Linked DNA regions of Homo sapiens: region 2 is linked to region 1. Evidence: promoter capture Hi-C in human tissues and cell types (Jung and others, 2019). All regions are on one chromosome and are shown on one strand. Each heading gives the region's core, a stretch centred on a gene start or on the middle of the fragment in contact. The rest is flanking DNA. Distances are from core to core; before and after follow the strand shown.

The links. Contacts are between HindIII fragments. The study calls those that stand out against the background at their distance.
Region 2: a fragment that was not itself captured here is called in contact with the fragment with the promoter of SLC10A7 in region 1 in 1 of the 25 tissues and cell types used here (mesendoderm cells).

Annotation. Positions count from the first base shown.
Region 1 is chr4:146,518,826-146,524,712 of GRCh38, forward strand. SLC10A7 (solute carrier family 10 member 7) reads right to left here and starts at 3,115. Exons shown (of 12, transcript NM_001029998.6): 1 at 2,793-3,115. The coding sequence starts at 2,892. RefSeq lists enhancers at 2,243-2,472, 2,913-2,982, 3,203-3,282, 3,293-3,712, 3,883-3,962. The HindIII fragment of the contact is 10,684 bases long and covers 474-5,887 here.
Region 2 is chr4:146,904,208-146,910,094 of GRCh38, forward strand. TTC29 (tetratricopeptide repeat domain 29) reads right to left here. Exons shown (of 13, transcript NM_031956.4): 5 at 4,819-5,042. Among named protein-coding and RNA genes, the nearest start is that of TTC29-AS1, 27 kb to the right of the region's middle. The HindIII fragment of the contact is 5,691 bases long and covers 1-5,541 here.

The DNA of each region.
Region 1 (5,887 bases), core at 1,865-4,364:
TCTTTCCCAGATGTCCTTTGGAGGACATCTTGACCTCAGACTTCTGGCTTCTAGAACTGTGAGATAATAAATTTCTGTTGTACTGAGCCACCTGGTTCATGGTAATTTGTTGTGGCAGCCCTAAGAAACTAATACACTCACTTAAGCAAAACAACAGGACAACAATCACGGCTCCTCCATAGCCTGAAACCCTCCACTTGTTCGATATATGGACAGAAGACCAAGCTCAGGAAAAATCACCATATATATATATATATATATATATATATATATATATATATATATATAATATAATATATAATTAATATATATTATGTATATAACATAATATATAATATATGATACAATAATGTACATAATATATAATATACATAATATCTCAAGGCCCCTCTGAGAGAGAATATATATTATATATAATAATATATTTTATATAATATATAACATATTATATACAATATATAACATAATATATAATATGATAATATATAATACATTATTTAACATAATATATAATATTATCTATATATAGAGAGAGATGACCTACTATGTCTTAGGCATTTGTAGTACAACAATGAATAAAAGAAACAAAGATTTCCTCAAATGCTGTAATAAATTATTTAATATGCCTGGCATTTACACAAATCATTTTGCTGAGATCTAAGAAAAGGGAAAGAAAGGGAGAAGGCAAGTGCAAAAGGCATTGCATTTGGGGGCAGTGAAGGCTGCTCAAAAACTTTTATAAGAGGTACATTATCTTTATATTTGTTAGTGAATCTGTCTCAGCAGCTCACACAGGTAATATTTCTTCAGCAGCTAAGCAAGGTGATTCAGGAGCAGATTTTAAAGTCAAGGAATCTGGCTTGCTTGGGAAGTAGAAGTTTCCCAGGAATTTTAAATACCCTGGTCTCCAATAGTTCCTCTTCCCTAAGCTAGCTACCTTAACCTAGAGAGAGTCACCTGGTATCTTCAACTGTAAAAGAAGCATGTTGGCTTAAAACACTTTAAATATTCCCCTCCCCCTCTTAACATTCTATTATAATTAAACAAAGGAATGAATTATCCTACATTAAAGACAGAAGGACTAGTGGAAATGGGAAATGGCATTTCTATGATACAATAATGTACCAAAATATTAATAAGCAGAGTCTATGGAACACATAAGTTTGCAGAATCTATCTCATACATGCCACTGCAGAAAAGCCCCACGGAAATGATTCAGCATTCAACACCTTTCTTCCCACAGAATATTTAGGAATGCAAGGTAAAAGATATTTTGCCAAACTTAGCCCCTGCAGATTTAAAGTTAAAGATCATACATCCTCTGTAATTTCATCTCAAAACTGAGCAAATAAGAGATCTAACACGAGAAGCGATAGCTAGTGAAGTGTGCATTGCAGATCATGCAAAGGTACTCTAAGTCTTACTATTCATTTAGCTCCGGGGATAGGGGGTCTTCATTTGACAGACCTGATCTTCACAAGAGTTTCCCAAAAGTTCACAGAGCAGCAGTGTTAAAGAAGAAACTATTACCATCAATCAGAGGGAGAAACCACCAGGAATAACTGCTTTATTCTCACAGTTACATATTCTACACATTTTGTTCTAAGTTGAATACAGAAGAACAAAATTTTAAAACAAACAATCCTTCATCTCCACAATTTTGGTTTAAATAATTCCTTTTAAAATGTTCCCGGAAGCTACTTCTAAACAGAGTAATGGGGTGGAGGTTAAGGGGAGAAGGGACCACTGCTGTTCTCCTAAGAGATCATTTCATTCACTTCCATCATGTTTTAACAAAAAGATAAAAATAACTTCAAATATCCTCCTGAGCGCTTCCTACTATGAAATATTGTGCCTGTTCACCTCTATCCTTATTTGCTCCGGTTGCATGAGTTAGGTATTAAACCTGTCAATAAGCTTGGAAACTGACAAACAAGGTCAAAAAGACAAGCGAATTGAATAAATTCAATTAATGTTTATGAAAAGTAGTACAAGATTGTCTAAAGGTGTTGGGGGGGGCATAAAAAACTAATATTTCTAATGTTCCCACCAGTGCCCATCATCTCCTGTACAAAGCTCCCACTATTCAGAGATCTAAGTATGCTTTCAGTCCATCCACATTTCCTTGCCAAAACACACACTACACTACACTACACATAGTCTAACAGTCTGTATCTGTTAGACTGCTAGTATAGCAACTGAATCCCGGCAGCACACGGAAGTATGCTGTAATGAAGTGTCCTGTAATCAAAGAGTGCAACGTGTCAGTCGGCTTGGGAGTTTCTGGAGCACCAGCAACTACAGCAAATCATCACTCTCCAACATGTGGGCCATAAAATCTGAGTTGGGGGCGGAGGTGTCCCTTTTCTTGTTTTTCCTCCACTTTTTTTTTTAATGTGGGGGCGGGGAGGACTCGAAAGTAGACTCGATAATGAGGTCCACTCCAAGATAGATACGGAACTCTTAGCAACCTAGATTCCCTTGGGATAGGATGCTACTTTGAAGGCAAGAGGAGTAAGTTTCATTCTCTGTAACCTCACTTCTTGACACTCAGGATAGTCATTGTTTGTCTACGGAAAAGGCTACCTGCCCTCAAATTCCTTTGCCTCGTTCCTAATTACAAGTTCCCTCTGGGGTTGGTAAATTAGAAAATCAGCAAAAGGGCCAAAGGCTGGTCAGTGCCCCCTGAAATTGGCAAGCGCTTGCAATGAGGGTTGCCCCACCTTTCCAAGACTCACAAATTAGTTCTGAAGTGGGAGCCGCGGTGGAGCCGGCAGAGGTGCAGCACTTACCCCCATTCACCCCTATGGACGGCTCCAGTTTAGCTCCAGCGATCGCCAGCACTATTCCGACCATGAACCAGTCTTTCCTCATTCTCTCCAGCAGCCTCATATTTGTTAGGGTGGGTGGGTTTTGTTTATTTGTTTGGCTTTTTTTCTTTTCAAGCTCCGATCACCTAATCCTTGGAGCGTCTCCACACTTTCCTTGGTCCCTCCAGACATGCAGCAGAGCAAGTCAAATTGCCGATTGTAAAGTAAAGACCTGGGGGTTGCTCCGGCGGCTTTGAGGAGGGTTGGGAGTAGTAGTAGCCAGTGACAGGAAAGTCTCACTGAGCGCCGCCATCACTACCACGCGCCTCAGAATACACGCGCACAAACGCCCCCAGCGCCTCTGGCCGCGGGCTCGCAGGTGCAGATGCTTTGAAATGAAGAACTCGGACCAGGCCGACAACGTGGGCGATCCGGCAAGGGAGGCTGGCCGCCGGATGGGGCTGACAAGCGCACCGCTGTCGAGACCTGCGGAACCTTCTGAATGACGAGGGGTCGGGGAGAGCGTCGTAAGGCGCCACAGCCAGCAAGCCTCACTGACTGTCCTTTTCTAACAAACCTTTAGGCACAGCCACCCACCCTTCTGGAGCATATCTCCATGGAGAGCCTCTCTTTTGCTGTGCCATGACTCCGCGGGCAGGGCTGACGTGTGCTTGGGGCAAGGGATTTCTCCGTTGAAGCTGCGGCAGCGGGGTGCAAGTTTGGAGACGCGCTTCTTCGGGACATTACGGCGCTTCCACGACGCTAGCGCTGACGTATGCGCGGGGGGGAGGGGAGGCCACTCTGGATCTCCGAGTTCCCAGCCTGAGCTGCCGGAGTTAGAGGTGTCCGCGCGGGAAAGTGGCTCGCTGGTGGGCGGGGAGCCTTATCTCTGGCGGTGGGTTGAAAATCCGGCGCCGGGCAGATGCCCACGTTCGCTGGACCCCTGCTTGCCGGCGTCCGCTACAACCCAAGGAAGGTGGGCCCGACCTCGCCAGGTCGCTCGCCTGCGGGTGGGCATTTGGTCCGGATCCCCTTCCCTCTGCGGCCCACACCTGTCTCCGGGACTGGGGAGGGCTGCAGGGATCGGGGCAGATCTGCCTTTGCGGGCCGAGAGTGACAGCTGAAGTCTCCCCACCAACTAAGCTACTCGCGGGCGGAGTGGGGTCTGCGCTGGCAAGCCCCTGGGCGCGCGGGTGCCCGCTCTGGCTCGCCCCCAGGGCTGACCTACCCAAGCCACAGGAAAACTCTGGGAAGAGGGTCGCGGATTCCAACGCGGAAGTGGTGGGGGATTGAGTCTGAGAGGTTGGGGAGTCCTACCTTCCATTGCCACGAGTGCTAGTTCTATCTGCCAGTTTCTTCCTTGAAATGTCTTGTGGCAACCAGTGACATTGATGGTTTCATGAATGGACTTCCTACCGGTAGACCCTGCAAGAGCATGAACTCCACTGTATCATTCATCCAAATGAAGAAAGAAAGAAAATAGTATGTGATATTTTGAAATAACCTGGCATCTGCCACTTAAATGGTTAAAAATAGAACTTAAGGTTTGGAAGAGATTGTTTCGTGATGACAGACTTTAATTCTGAATTTATTCAAAGCTGGAAAGACACTCGTCGTGTCATTTCCTCTATTTAATTTAGCTTTATCTTGATGGCAAGACTTCCAGAAACTAAGCCACTTTAAGAGTTGTGCTCCCAGTTGTAGGTTACACAGTACCAAGTGTCATCTAATTATACATCAGGCAACATGAAAAAAAATTAATTTCAAGATAAAAAGAACTTAACAGGGAGACATAGATGACATTAAGCAGTTTACTCTGAAAAGAGACAGGTACATGAAATATAAAATTTGATGTTAGTTGTCAGGCAGTCAGAAGATAAGTGAAGATAAATGAAAGATAGTTTACAACATAATTATTTTCTTATAGTAATTTCTTAGTAGGTTAAAGAGTCATACGTCTCAGTCATTGAAGGGATAGTTTTGTATTAAAACATCATTAAACATTAAGTTTACAGAAATTGAGCTGTTTTAACTGTACAGCTATTCACAAATTATTTACTAATACCTCTTTGATCTGTGTAGAGCAGAATCTAACTCAGAGATTTTTTTGTTCTGTTTTTAATGGTACTTAAAGGAAAAGAATATAATGTACCATGAATTATATTCTCTTAAGGCCTGTATTTGTTTGCTGTGGATGCTGAAACAAATACTCGAACTTGGATGCCTTCAAACAACAGAAATTTATTATCTCACAGTTCTGGAGGACAGAAGTCCAAAATCAAGATTTTGGCAGAGCCATACTCCCGCTGAAGGCTCTAGGGGAGAGTCCTTCCTTGCCTTTTCTAGTTTCTGGTGGTGCCTTCCTTGGCTTGTAGCTAGAGTGTTCCAATCTCTGCCACTGTTTTCACATCACATTCCCCTCTGTATTTCTTTCTAGTGGCCACATTATTCTAGTTTCTGCATCCATCTTCACGTTGCACCTCCTTTTCTGTGTATCTTTTATAAAGACACTTGTCATTGGATTTAGGGCCTACCCAGATAATCCAAAATGATCTCTCAAGAGCCTTAACTCAATCACAGTAGTCCCCCCTTATCCTGAAAGGATACATTCCAAGAACCTTAGGTAGATGCCTGAAACTGCTGGTTGTACTGAACCCTATCTATATATGCTATGGTATTTTTTCTTATACATACATTCCTATGATGATAATTTTTGGTTTATATTATTAGGCACAATAAGAGATGAACAATAATTAATACAGTCAGGCATTGCTTAACCACCGGGTTACATTCTGAGAAATGTATGGTTAGACGATTTCATCATTAGAGAAACATCATAGAGTGTACTTACACAAACCTAAATAATGTAGTGTACAACACACCTAGACTATATGGTATAGCCTATTGTTCCTAGGCTGCAAACCTATACAGCATGTTACTATACTGAATACTGTAGGCAGTTGCAACACAGTGGTATTTGTGTATCTAAACATATCTAAACATAGAAAAATTACAGTATAAGAGGTTTTTTTTTTTAATGGAGTCAGGAGTAGTGGTGTGTGCCTCTAGTCCCAGCT
Region 2 (5,887 bases), core at 1,446-3,945, 380 kb after region 1:
CATAAAAATGTCACGGGCCTGATAGATACAACAAATGATGATCAGAATGACCCTATAAGCTCCATATGCTTTCAAGCAATGTTTCTAGCAATACAAATTTCTAGCAATGTTAAGAAAGAGTAGACTTCTACGCTTCTGTTTTCTATGGGTATTTTTTTGCTGGGAATGCATAAATACTGTCGTTTTTACTCAGAAAGTTCTTAATTAAACTCTTGTAGGTTTTTTTTCCTAAAGGGTATCTAACCTATATCTACATAAAAAAATGTGTCCGTCAATTGTGAATCAGTCTTATAAACCCCACTGTGATAGTAAACCTGAACGAATATGTCTGTGTGTTAATAAGTTGTGCCTCAGTCCTGTAAACTCCACTCTAATGGTGAATATGAACAAATTCATAATATTTATGTCTTTTGTATTTATGCTGAAATCATAGTTGTATTATAAAATGCAGTGGTCTCTGGGTTACCCTTCCAATAATTTTTTAGTAACAGTCATTATCTATTAGAATTCACTGATATTAATTGTTCACTACTACCAGAGGAGTCAACCCACATATTCCTGAAGAGATTACAATTATGAAAAATATTGCCCACTAGGACACCTGTAAGATTAAAACCAAAAGTCAGAAAAAATGAAACAGGTTGATTACAACAAAGGGTCATTCTGCAGAACCGTAAGTAAGTCACCCCAATGTTTCAAAAGAAATTTCTAAAACCGATTCTATTCCTTTACATATACTTCTTTAAAATTCCAATGGAAATTAACATTTATATCAAAATAAATTTAATAACTGGAAAACAAAATAAAAAGGTCTCCCTATCCTGGAAGTTGCTGGAGATTCTGGAGAGCCATTCTGCTTTTCGAGGACACTCACACCAGGTGACAGCTCAGGTGAAAAGTAGCGCATGACCTAAGCTATTTATCTGACGCAAATACTCCCACCTCAGAATACTTCTGTGCTTTGTCTTTCCATTATGAACTTCCTACATAATGTGAATACAACACTAAAGTCTGTTTTGTAATATTTCATATTCTTGGTTATATTTACTGATTAGAGAGTTATTGCTTTTAGAAGTCAGTAAGTAAAACATTTCATATTTTCCACTTTAATAAAAAGTATATATATATATATAATTAAAAATATATGTAGTCCCGAAACAATTTTTTTATATTTTAGTAATTAAACCTTAATGTAAAAATATTTGCAACATTTCATAAGGTTTTTTTTTTTAGGAATGAGTTAGATAAGCTACCAAGATTACATATTTAAAGACTACTTGTCAGCTAAGCTATTTTTCTATGAATAAAGGATTGTTTTCTAGAATATTAAATATAAAAGAATATATTCAAGTTTCAAATCTTTGGGCAATCCAAATATGTGTCCTGTACCCTTTACAAAGGCTACAAGTAGCCTTCTCTCCTTGCTTGTAGACCACTTCCTTGAATTGACAGCAGGTATATTCAGAAGATGAAAATCAATTTTATTGTGGGTTTCTTATGCTCCTTAAAAAGAAGATTCTACAATAAAATAAATTTGGGAAACATTTTTGCAAATTTCCTTTTTCAGTAAACCACACAATATACATCAGCATGCTGAATGCTCTGATTAGTCCTGCAATAAATTAACCTGCTTAACCTCAATGTTAGTTCACCGGGTATTTCTCAAGCTTATTTGGCCAGAAAATTGTTTTGTTTTGCTTTACATCAAATCTGTAAACACCTGTGGAATTTTGCCTTAGAACATAATTTGTGTATCTTAAACAAACATTATTAGAAAAAAATTGCTGCTCAACCCTTAATAAATTTAAAAGTCAAGTGTAAATAATGTTTGAATTATCTATTGATTCTCTTACCCATTACCATTTTTGTCATCTCTTCCCTAGCCCCATGGGGCATAAGGCTCAAATCAGATGTCACAGATGGCACAGCAATGATTCATGACAATGGATAATATTTAAAAAAAAAAAGTATCAGGGACAAAGAAACACTTTAACAAATGGAAAATAACCCAAAAAGAAATGATTGGCTTACTTTAAACACACCTTTGCTATAAAACAGCAAGTGTTTTATAAAGTAATTTAAATAACTCTAGGTTACTGCTCTGTAAGTCTCAAGAGATAGAACTGACCTGAGATGACTATTGTTAATGCCATAGCTTTGATTAAATGAACTTCACTGTGACCCTAGAGTGATGGTTCTTCCAATGAGAAGCAACGAGATTGCTCAGTTATATGCTATCTCAGGAAAATTGCCTCTAATGTCACAACCATATGGAATGGAACTTTAAGATACTATTAACACATTTCTATATTCTAGGCTTACATACACATTTTAAGATTTAGGATTCATTCAAGTTAATAAGAGTGAATGTGCATATCTCATTTTCTGGTACATCCCTAATTCAAACCACAATTTTCCTCCAATAAAGTTCATGTGTTGAATGTGGAAAAAAAATTATAACAATTTTTGAAAAAAGGTGACACAAATGTTTACATGTCCTTCAGCTGAAGTTTTTCCAGTAATACTTTTGTAATAATTTTAATTTTCTATATTTCAACCAGACAAAAGCCACTGCATTTTGTGGGAGATAATCCTACAGAAGAGACTTTGGCTATTATAACTTTGGACTTTGGGCCAGGTGCGGTGGCTTACGCCTGTAATCCCAGCTCTTTGGGAGACCAAGGTAGGAGAATCACTTGAGGTTAGGAGTTCGAGACCAGCCTGGCCAACATGGTGAAACCCCGTCTCTACTAAAAATACAAAAATTAGCTTGGCATGGTGGTTTGTGCCTGTAGTCCCAGCTACTCGGGAGGCTGAGGCAGGAAAATCACTTGAACCTGGAAGAAGGAGGTTGCAGTGAGCTGAGATCACATCACTGTACTCCAGCCTGGTTGACAGAACAAGAGTTTGTCTCAAAACAAAACAAAAAGTTAGGCTTTGTTAACTTTTGGATTGGAGAAACATTTTTACTTATAGTAACTTTCCTTTAAGAAATATTATATATTAAAATGTTTTCTACCCTCAAATAGACTATTTGGCATTTTAGGTTCTTATAAATTTGAAAAAGCTTTATGACAAGCTGGCTCACATCTATGACACCTTATGACAAGTGACATATTTAGCTTATATTTACACTATCTCCAATGAAAGCCTCAATTTAAAACAGTGAATATGATAAAATTCAATGGAATAAAACAGCTAATGAGCAAATATTATCTTAGTTCTACTTTCAGTTTAAATATCACTGTAGAATTTTGGGCAAATACTAGAATGTAGGTTGTTTTGTTTTGTTTTGTTTGTTTTGTTTTGAGATGGAGTCTTGCTCTTGTCACCCAAGCTGGAGCGCAATGGAGCAATCTCAGCTCACTGCAACTTTTGTCTCTCGGGTTCAAGCAATTCCCTGCCTCAGCCTTCTGAGTAGCTGGGATTACAGGCGTCCGCCATCATGCCCGGCTAATTTTTTTGTATTTTTAGTAGAGACGGGTTTTCACCATGTTGGCCAGGCTGGTCTCAAACTCCTGACCTCAGGTGATCCACCCGCCTTGGCCTCCCAAAGTGCTAGAATTACAGGCATGAGCCACCGCGCCCAGCCAAAATGGAGGTTTTTTATAATAGCACTTTTTATTTACAATAGTTAATTTCTTGAGAAATAATTGTAAATAATATTTTAAAGTTCACCAAAATATTTTTTTTCACATCCATCCTGCAGTGAAACCCTTTTCATAATATACATAACCACCTCCTATCCCACCCCTGCCACACACACACCCTAGTTCATTTGTTTTGTTGTTCACATTTTTGTGTGTCTCATATTCATAAGTCAGGTCACAACCTGATGGGAAATATGTATTGGCTCCAACATATAGAGACTCTTCTAATGTTGTTTACATGACTCCATAAATTTTCTCCATGGTACCATTGGGTAACAAAAAGTTGCTGATACCCTATTTTCTCATAGAAAAGCCTGAAATGACATGTAGACATTGTCATGTTGAGGCCTGAGTTTTTCTTTTTGAATCCTGTGGTATTTTCCCCAAAAAATTTGGAGAAAAGAATAATTTAGAATACCAAATTTACATGCCAAATTCTAGAATTTCATTTTTTTATTTGATTATAGATGACTAGTTAAAATGACCAGTTCCTAATATGTAACTAAGAAATATTTATGACAACAATATCAGTATAATTAGTGTAGAAATGAAAATATTTAATACTTGGAATGTATACTAACTTTCTGGAAAATTTTGAAATACAAAAAATGTATTAGAAATGATGTCATGGAAAATATAAAATTGACAATTTTATTTGCAATTGTGAATTGCAGGATTTTCATGTCTTTTTACTATTTACAAAGATAAATTCTCTGATTCAAATCAGTAGGACTTCTTGACCCAAACTTCAAAGTCCACTATCTAAACTTAGGAAAATCAGTGTGATTTTCAAGTTATAGTACTCTTTGAAAGTATCTCCTCTATGAAAGTCAATATTCAGATTACGTATACAGAAAAACTGTAGAAAGGTTTAAACCTAATGATAGGAACTATGTTAATTCATGGGGGAAGTTCTGGAGATATTATTAGGTGCTATGTGTTGTCTTCCCTGGCTCGGAAGGACATCACCAGAATGCCCCCGTGTCTGGGCAGCCTCGTGATCCAACATTCCCTTTCCTTAATTCCATAAAGACGTTTAATTGACTGGGTTGAAGTGTGCTAAGTTGTCTTAATGTTTCAAATTCATACATGAAACAATCTGGAATCTTCCCCCAGGAGCTCGGTGTTCTGGCTCCTTCTGTGCTCTGCCCACAGTCCCACCACTTACCTTTCCTCTCAGCGTCCTCAGCCCTGGTCAGGTAATGGTACAGGTAATCCAGTTTATCAGGCTGCTCCTCCAGGGGCTTCTGCAGCCAGAAGAGGGACCTGACTCTCGCAGCCTCCCTCAGGGCATCCCACCGCTCCATCAGAGCGAAGAGCTCGGTGAAGGACTTATGATAACCATCTCGCAGCATGTCCACACAGATATTCTTCTTGTAGGAGTTCCTATAACTGGAAATATGAATCAGAACACTCTCAGGTTTATGTTAATCCTTTCAGTCTGCACGGTATTTTCATTCTCTAATAATTAAAGGTTGAATCATGTTGCCTTTTATCCCTCAGTGAAAGCACTGAAAACTATCAAAAGATCTTTGCCTCAAACACTTATAATTGAACAACTTCTGTTTAATGAAAGATGCCAGGAGCTATCTAAACACAGTAATTTTAATGAAATTACATTATAAACATATCAGTTCCAGAGCTGAGCTCCATTTGATAAGGACAAATAAGCTAGTTGACTGATGAATATTAAAAAATACTTGATATATCAGCCTCCCACCAAAAAAAACCTCAACAAGTCAAGCAAAAATAAAACTTGCCATTTAATATCAAAACAATATTCTCTCTATATTAGTAGTTTCACTGTATGTTACAGAAGTTCATCATTCTTTCATTCATGCAGAAAATATTTATTGAAATCTATTACTAACTATATATTTTTTAATTACTTTCAGTTAGAATTAAGTTAATGATTAATAATTATATTCTCACTTCAATAATCAAATGCAAAAAGATAAAGTGACAAATGAATATTCCATTTAGTCAAGCGACAAATAGGTGCTGAGTTTCCTACTAAGTGCCAGGCGCTGTTCTAGACCAAATAGATTCCATACCCTTGTGACGCTTACATTCTAGGGGCAGAACATGACTAACAAATAAGTAAGCAAATGAGAAATAATTTCAAATCACGAAAATTTCTAGAAAGGAAATAAACAGAATTGTGAGATAATAGCTGTGTAGTGGCTATTATTCCATTAAAAGAACAATTAGATACCAAAAGATATAGCTTTATACTA